3 separate regions of the Homo sapiens genome follow, and all the other regions are linked to region 2. Evidence: promoter capture Hi-C in 16 types of primary human blood cells and fetal thymus (Javierre and others, 2016). All regions are on one chromosome and are shown on one strand. The core of a region is centred on a gene start or on the middle of the fragment in contact, and the rest is flanking DNA. Distances in the headings are between cores, read along the strand shown.

What was found. The method cuts DNA at HindIII sites, captures the fragments that hold promoters and counts their contacts. A CHiCAGO score of 5 or more calls a contact.
Region 1: the fragment with the promoter of SLC4A3 here is called in contact with a fragment that was not itself captured in region 2 in 1 of 17 cell types (neutrophils); the score reaches 5.2 in neutrophils.
Region 3: the fragment with the promoter of CFAP65 here is called in contact with a fragment that was not itself captured in region 2 in 2 of 17 cell types (total CD8 T cells and total CD4 T cells); the score reaches 5.5 in total CD8 T cells.

The regions. Positions count from the first base shown.
Region 1 is chr2:219,626,220-219,628,919 of GRCh38, forward strand. SLC4A3 (solute carrier family 4 member 3) reads left to right here and starts at 1,411. Exons shown (of 23, transcript NM_005070.4): 1 at 1,411-1,526; 2 at 1,681-1,824; 3 at 2,186-2,351. The coding sequence starts at 1,774. LOC124908064 (a long non-coding RNA gene) reads right to left here and starts at 1,791. Exons shown (of 2, transcript XR_007088701.1): 1 at 1,721-1,791. RefSeq lists enhancers at 1,914-2,616, 2,617-2,700. The HindIII fragment of the contact is 16,254 bases long and covers 1-2,700 here.
Region 2 is chr2:219,361,976-219,364,675 of GRCh38, forward strand. LOC105373883 (a long non-coding RNA gene) reads right to left here. Exons shown (of 2, transcript XR_923917.3): 2 at 527-833. Among named protein-coding and RNA genes, the nearest start is that of DNPEP, 25 kb to the right of the region's middle. RefSeq lists an enhancer at 588-637. The HindIII fragment of the contact is 1,677 bases long and covers 524-2,200 here.
Region 3 is chr2:219,040,132-219,042,831 of GRCh38, forward strand. It overlaps CFAP65 (cilia and flagella associated protein 65), which reads right to left and starts at 1,385. Exons shown (of 35, transcript NM_194302.4): 1 at 1,357-1,385; 2 at 388-433. The HindIII fragment of the contact is 30,940 bases long and covers 1-2,700 here.

The sequences.
Region 1 (2,700 bases), core at 161-2,660, 260 kb after region 2:
GGTGTGAGCCACCGCACCTGGCCAATTTCCCCTTTTCACTGGAACACCAGTCATAATGGATGAGTCCACCCTTATCTTAACATCTGCAAGAACGTTATTGCCAAATAAGGGCACACTCTGATGTACCAGGGGTTAGGACTTCAACGTATAAATTTTGGGGGACACTACTCAACTCCCAACAGCTGGGTCTCCCATTCTGAGTTTTGGGGCACAGCTGTGCTCTGCCTAGGCATAGCTGATTCCCACCCTAGGAATTCCCACCTTGGGACTCACCATGTGAGACTTAGGAGGACAGTTCATCTCTTTCAGTTAAAAATTTTGTTTGTGGCTTGGAGAGTCACTTCAATACATGGATAATGATGCCCAAACCTGTCGGCAGCCTGCTTTCCAGCTGTGACCATGGCAGGTAACGAGCCTCCCTGAGTCTCCACTGTCCTCTGCCGACCAAATGGGAATCATAACAGCTCCTCTTATTATTATGCCTGAGACGAGGCAGCCAGTCTGGAGAGGGCCAACCTAGCACAGGACTGTGAGCACACACAAGACAATGTGGGCGTCCAACAGATCCTAGCTCCCTTCCCCTTGGAAGGCTATGCACACAGAAAATCTTTCCTTGGGTTGAGCTGAGATCTAGATGAGGCCAGGGGTCAGACGCGGTGAAGTACCAAGGTCACAGGGCTGTTATGGCATCGCACTGTGTAGAAGTCCAGTTTCATTGATCTCGGGATAGGGGCCGATTGGGGTCCAGTGGCTCCTTCGAAAGACCTTTTGCCCTTGGAAAATGAGATGTGACCTCAGGGATAGGGGGAGAAGGGAGAGGAAATGTGGAAACGGAGCCACACAGTCTTAGAGTTGCATAGAACTTTGGAACACCCCTATTGCAGGCCCCTCTCGCTACAGCTGGGGAAGCTGAGGCGGGAGGAGGGGAGGTACTGTGTCAAGGTCAAACGTTGGGTGGTGCCAGGCGACAGAAGCCAGGCCTTTGAGAGGCAAGGCTGTGGTAGAAATGAAAGGGGAGGTGGTGGGTGCTTCCAGGGGTCTGTGAGCTCCGTTCCCAAGACTGGAGGGGCCTGTGTCTGCGGAGGGGGTGGCTTCCTGGGCTCTGGAGGGGAGGGGAGGCTAAAAGCAGGGTTGGGGAGCGAATCTGGGGGATTGTGGGAATATCGGGCCGCGCCCCAGCCCCCAGCGATGCGTGGGGCGCCTGGAGAAGGGGCGCACGGGCAGGTGGGGTGCTGCGGGGCCCGCGCGTGGGGGCCGCGCCGGCCGGGGCGGGGTGAGTCACGGCCCGCCCGCTCCCATTGTGCGGCCCGGCGGCGGCGGCGGCGGCGGCGGCGGCGGCGGAGGTGCGGAGCGGAGCGCGAGGAGGTGGAGCCGCGGGCTGCGGGCTCCGGCGCCTGCGTCCGCCCGGCCAGCCCGGCTCTGCGCTGCGAGAGGCCGGACGGCAGTCGCGGCTGCGCTCGGGAGAGAGCGCGGGGGACATGGGGCGCGGCGGCCCGCCTGGGCCTCGCAGGCTCCGGAGCCCCGAGGTACCGCGGGGCGGGGCACGCCGGGCAGGGCGGGGGACCCGGGCTGTCCCGGGCGTGGCTGGGCCTCGGAGGGGCGCTTGGGCCGGGAGCGTGCATCCGGCTCCCGGGTGGGGGGCGCCAGCGCAAGGAACCTGACCCCGCCCTCCTCCCCCAGGGCTCCCCGCTAGGCCCCCTCAGTGGCCCCTCCTTCTCACCTGGGTCTCGGGTCCCCTAGTGAGCGAGAGCGTCCCCAGCCGCCTACCTGGCCATGGCCAACGGAGTGATCCCGCCGCCCGGGGGCGCCTCCCCCCTACCCCAGGTGATCGGCGCGCGCGGGGGCGGGGGAGAGATGGGGGAGGAGAGGGGAGGGACCTTAGGGTGGGCAGAGGAGTCCTCTGGCCGACCCCGGGACCCCCCAGATCCAGGGATGAGCTGGGCTGGGGGTTACGGAGAAAGAGGGGGGTTTTTGATATTTTCCAGATCCGTAGCCCTCTCTCTTTACAAGCTCTGGGAGCCCAGAGAGGGTGGTTTCTGGGATGCTGACACAGGCCTGGGAGCAAGGGGAGGGGGCCCGATGGTGTGAGAGCCTGCTGAGCTCCCCCAACTAGGGCTTGGAGTTGGGGTGGGTGTGGGGCCTTCATGGGTCAGGGGTCCTTAGCAGAGGCCGTCTGGGCCTGCAGGTCCGGGTGCCCTTGGAGGAGCCCCCTCTAAGTCCAGACGTGGAGGAGGAGGACGATGACTTGGGCAAGACCTTGGCTGTGAGCAGGTTTGGGGACCTCATCAGCAAGCCCCCGGCCTGGGACCCCGAGAAGCCCAGCCGCAGCTACAGCGAGCGGGACTTTGAGTGTGGGTAGCCTGGGGACCCCTAGTGCGGCCGCCCTCGCCACCATCACCTTCATCGCCACCATCACCGCGCTCACCTCCGGCTTGGTCACCCAGTGCCATCCTGTGCCGGACACTGTGCTGGACTCTGTGCTGGGCCACATGCCGTGTTCAGTCATCCTGCCTCCCCCACCCATCGCCTGTCCGCCTGCCTGGGGAGGTGGGCCCCAGACCAGGGGAGATCTAGGGAGCTGGGCCTGGGCCCTTCCACGGTGACCTTCCCCTTCCCCTTCGTCCCCACTCACTCCCTCCTTGTCCCACCTCGGCTAGTCCAACTCCGCCTTTCCCCTCCTTGCTGTATCACGTCTCCCCT
Region 2 (2,700 bases), core at 112-2,611:
TTGAACCCGGGAGGCAGAGGTTGCAGTGAGCAGAGATTGTGCCACTGCATTCCAGCCTGGGTGACAGAGCAAAACTCCATCTCAAAAAAAAAAAAAAAAAGAGAGAGAAGAGGCAGCTCCTCCGAGATGGGTCAGAGCTCTATGGGGAGCCCCAGGTGGGCATCTAGATGGTGAAGAGCCCAAAGACTCTAGAAGTGGGTTCTCGGGACTTGCGCATGCGTACATGTGTTTATATGTGTATACATGTGTTTATATGTTTGTGCATGGGTGTTGTGTCCATGTGTTTATATGTGTGTGCATGTGTTTGTATGAATCAATGTGTACTGTATGCATGTGTGTTTGTGTGTGCGTATGTAGGTTTGTATGTGTGGGAGATGTATTTGTGTATGTAGATGGGATGTGTGTGTCAATGTGTATATGTGTACATGTAGTGTACTTGTATTCATTGTCTATTACTTTTTTTAAAAATCCAGTTTTAGCAAAGAATATCTATGGCTTATTGCTACATGACAAATTACCCCAAAGCTTAGTCGCTTAAACTATAAACATCTATTTCACAGTTTCTGTGGACTGGGAATCTGAGAGAGGCTTAGCTGGGTATTTTTGGTTCAGGGTCTCTCTTGAAGTTGCAGTGAAGATGTTACTCAGGGTTGGCTGTAGTCTTCTGAAGGCTTGCGTGGGGCTAGAGGATCCACTTTCAAGATGACTCACCCTCCTGGCAAGACGATGCTGGCTGTTGGCAGGAGGTCTCAGTTCCCTACCACATCAGCCTCTCCATATGGCTGCTTGAGTGCCTCATGACACAGCAGCTGGCTTCCTCTGGAGTGAGTGACCTGAGAGAGAGAGAGAACCAGGCAAAAGCCACAGTGTTTTTAAAACCTAGCTTTGGAAGTCCCATGCCATCATTTCTGCCATATTATACTGGCCACAGAGACCAACCCTGATACACTGTGGGAGGGACTACACAAAGGCATGAATTCCAAGAGGTAAGGATCACTGGAGGTCATCTTGTAGGATGGCTATCACATGCAGTATGTGCGTGTGGGTATGTGGGGTGTGTGTTTGTGGGTGTGTACATAAAGATGTGTGTGTTTGTGTATATATGTGTATGTTTTTGCATATGTATATATGGATATATAGCAATATGTTTGTGTGACATGTATCTATGTATTGTCTGCATATGTGTATGCATGCATTTATGTATATGTATCTGTGTATTGCACATGTGTGTTTTTTGCGCACGAGTATGCATGCATGTATTATGCCTACATGCATGTCTCTGTGTTTGTATGTTGTGCATGTGTGCATATATGTGTATGCCTTTTTGTATGTATTTGTAGTATGTGAATGAGCATATGTATGCATGTGTGATGGGTTTGTATATGTATCCAGGTGTATATGTGTGTCTATGCCTGTGGCTGTATATGTTTGCAAACATTGTATGTGCATGTGCACCTGTGTTGTGTGTGTGCATGTATGCTTACATGTGTGTGTTTCTGTATAGATGTCCATGTGTAAGTCCGCATGTGTCTGTTTATGTGTGTGTAGGTGTATATATGTTACGTTTATGTATGTGTGTGAGGTGTATGTGTGTAGGTTTGAGAATATGTGTGTGCATTACTATGTACATATTGCACTTGTATATATAAATGTGTGCTGGCACATGCATACAAACTTAGGAATGTCACCTGCTGTGGGAGGAAAGCCTGGAGTCAGGAGTGGGGAGACTCAGGGAGGAGTCCCTATTATTCCTGGGGTAGCCCATGAGTGGAAGGCTCTGGAGCCTGGAGAGCAGGCTCTCCCTTGCATTTAGGATATGTGGATCCATGGTCCTCTGCATCTGGCTTTCCTTTGTCAAGGCTTTCTGTTGTTGTTCATTTTTGTTTGAACATTTCAGTCTTTCCTAAGCTGTCAAATAAAGCAGCAGAGAAAGGGTGGTCTCTATTGCCTGGAAGTTGAGAGTTCAGTGTAGACTAGTGCCCCTTTGGGGCTGGCCTGGGGAAAACAAGGGGATTTCCCTGGAGAGCACGGCTGACCCTCCCTCTCATCTCTTCTCGCCTAGGGCCACTCTGGGAGCTTCTGGAGTTTATTGGGCAAGAAGGGAGGGCATTTCTTTACTTCTAATAATCCAGTCATCTTAGGAGCCACTCTTTTCCTCTTTCCATTTAGAATATTTCTGACACCAACTTTTGTGTTTAGAAGCTTTTATGCTTTTTTTTAAAAAAAGTATTTTTACCTTTTGATTATGAAAGGTAATACATATGAACAGAAGTAGACAGAATGTAAAGATACAGCTCAACAGATTTTCAGAGTGAATAGCCATTTATACTATCCAATAAGAGGGTTCAGGACATGCCACCCAGAAACATGGCACACTGGCATGTTGAATATTTTAAGCTGGAAGGATCTGAGAAACAGCATGTGCAGGACAATCTCTCTGACTTCCCTGATCCTTCTCTCCTGAAGGGATCTCCCTGATCCTTTCCCCATGTGAAAGGTGTCCTTCCTCCAAAGATGGGGACACAGACAGGAATCTGAACACATGGGCCTTGTTAAGTCTTTTGGGTAAATAAAATTAGTTTTAAGATTGTTGGCAGGCTGGGCGCAGTGGCTCACACCCCTAATCCCAGTGCTTTGGGAGGCTGAGACAGGAGCATTACTTGCGCCCAGGAGTTTGAAACCAGCTTGGACAACATACTG
Region 3 (2,700 bases), core at 135-2,634, 320 kb before region 2:
CAAGCAATTCTCCCTTACAGGTATTTTAATTCTTACAACAGTTTATGATTACGTGTGACTTGCCCATTTATTTGGCCTAAAATGATCCTTTTTCAAGTTTGTCGTTTAGTTCCTTATTTTAATGTGTTCAGATTTAGCAAACAATTTCATGATCACCCTTTAGGAATTTATACAGTTCCATCAGACACTCTCTTATCCCTCCCCCACCACCCACCAACACCCTTCCAAAGCGGAAGATTCTGTTGACCCTGGTTTTCCTAGTTGGCAACATGTCTAAACCCTCTGGAGGGGACTATCTAGATTCAGTCGTTCGTTCATTCACAAAGCACTTACTATTATGTACCAGGTACTGTGCTAGGCACCAGACAAGGCAGGCAAGGCTCCTACCTCCAATTGTGAACTGGACGTTCAGATGAAATCAAAGAAATGTAAGCTGAGGAGACACAGAGAGAGTCCATTACTTTTCTGCCACGGGATGGTCTTGCAGCCCTGTCCTGACTCATTAATGCCTCTGACCTCAGGGGACTGTACAGACAGCTCCTGCCTCAGAGCTCTGAAAAAGTCTCCACTCAACACATGAAACTATTCCAGAGAGTGCATGGAAGAGATGAGAGATGATGGGGTAGAAAGCTGGTCCAACACAGGTCATAGGGCTAGGGAAGTGGTCCCAGGGCAAGGGACGCTGGGTGCCAGCATCTTCTCAGACTCTACGGGGATAGGCAAATTTCTCCATCTCCCGGAGCCTCAGCCTCCTCGCCTGTAAAATGTGGGTTATCCTGACGATTTCACAAAGTCGATGTGCAGCTCGAATGAAACAGAGGATTTGAAAAAGCACTAAACAAACACGTTATAGTAATTAACAACCATAACTTTCCCACTAGCCTGCACTATTCTTCCAAAAGACTCACACATCTGCAGTCGTTGTGAAGAGACTGGGCAAGCGAGGTTTTTTGTTTTGTTTTGGATTTGTTTTGTTTTAAATTGAAGTTTCCAATTTCGAGGACTTTAAAAAATATATATCATGAGCTTCCTTTATTTGCCTAATTGCTGATCTAAAAATCTCCAAGATGACCACTAGAAAAAGTGGCAGGTCGTCGTATAGAGTCGAGGGAGAAAGAAATAGATGAAACAAAGGGGGACAAAATACACTTAGAGCTGTTTCTTCTTTCTCTTCGGGATCCTTAGTCTGATTGATCTCGCCCAAGACTCAGTCCCATGGGGCTCTCTGAAGGGCATGGAGGGGACCTCTGGCCACGATTTCCCGAAGGATAGGGTCTCCCGGGACAGATACCTTCCCTGGCCACTCGCGCCGCTCCCTGAGACCCTGGGACCTTGGGACTAACGCTCAGAACTTACATCGCCTCCATATTGCCGTCTCCATAGATACAGGACGCGCAGGAAACGGCGTCTTCAGATATCCCAGGGCAACGACGGCAGCCCGAGTAAGTCAAGATTCGTAGAAGGCGAAGGCACCGCCCAATTTTATTTCCTATATTCAGTTTTGATTCCCTGACTTTTCCTGCTGGTAGTAACTGTGGGCTTCTACCTGTCGCGACATGGTAATGTAGAGCCTCCTAGTTGTCGTGACGTTCCAGCAATCATGACTTTAATTGACGACCAAATTCACAGGAAGCTACTCTGTGGGCTTGGCACTCTGACATGCATAGAGACAGAAGCTCATTCTCTGTGATTGCAATTGTTAACTTAAAAGCAGCCCGCAGTTATTTCTTATTTGAATATTGCTTTGCAAATAGAACCCTTTTGCTGATGAGAGGGAATGCGTCCTCTGCGTTTTCTCCCGGCATTTCTTCTTGGTCAGCAACAAGAAAAATAACTCTTTTGAAGGGATCGGAAGGTTAATGTATAAAGGAATTATTATACATAATGTAGACTTTCGGAAGCCCATTGGTTCATTTGTTGGTATGTGTGTTGGAGGAAGGGTCCTATTTTGTGAAGACTCCTTAGTAGGTGAAGCTGAAAGTCTCAAAGTTCACTCTTGGGTAACTAAGGATGTTTTGCTCCTCAAGACAGTGAACCTATTTCCTTTCAGATGGAAGGGGGGATGTGACTAGGGGGAGAGAGCTTAGTGAGTCTAGGGGTAAACACAGAAAATAAGCTATCATTTTGGGAGAGTTGGAGTTGACTTGTGAAAGGTGAAAGATGGACTGAGATGGCAAAGTGGCCTGAGCTGGCCTGGGAGATCACATGGCCAGAGACTGGCAGGGCTGGAGGGAAGGGGCAGGCAGGGCGCCTGGTAAATTACGCCAGCAGGATCAAGAGTTTTCCGGGAATCAAAGAATGTGGAACTCAGTGAGCTTTTCCCTGGATTTAATGGGATTCTCAGAATCTGAAACCTGCACTTTGGACATGACGACTTTTATGCTGTTTGTAGTTTCTATAATTATTTCCTTTTTGTTTTTCCCCAAATTCTTTTTGAAATGGTCAGCCTAACTCAGCTGGACCTTAAGGACAAGGAAAGGAACTGGTTCATTCTTAGGCGAAAATGAAATAGGGACTTTGGGGGCAGGGTTTGGTGTTGGCCCCAGGAATCTCAGTGGGAAAACTCCAAGGAGGAAGCACAGCTCATGCTAAAGGCGTCCTCGTGCCTCTTCACCGGGGAGTCTCCTTCCTGAGCTCTTGCCTGCTCAATGGTGGATTCTGGGTTTGGAAAAATTAAAGGGAATGGTTCCTCCTCTTAGC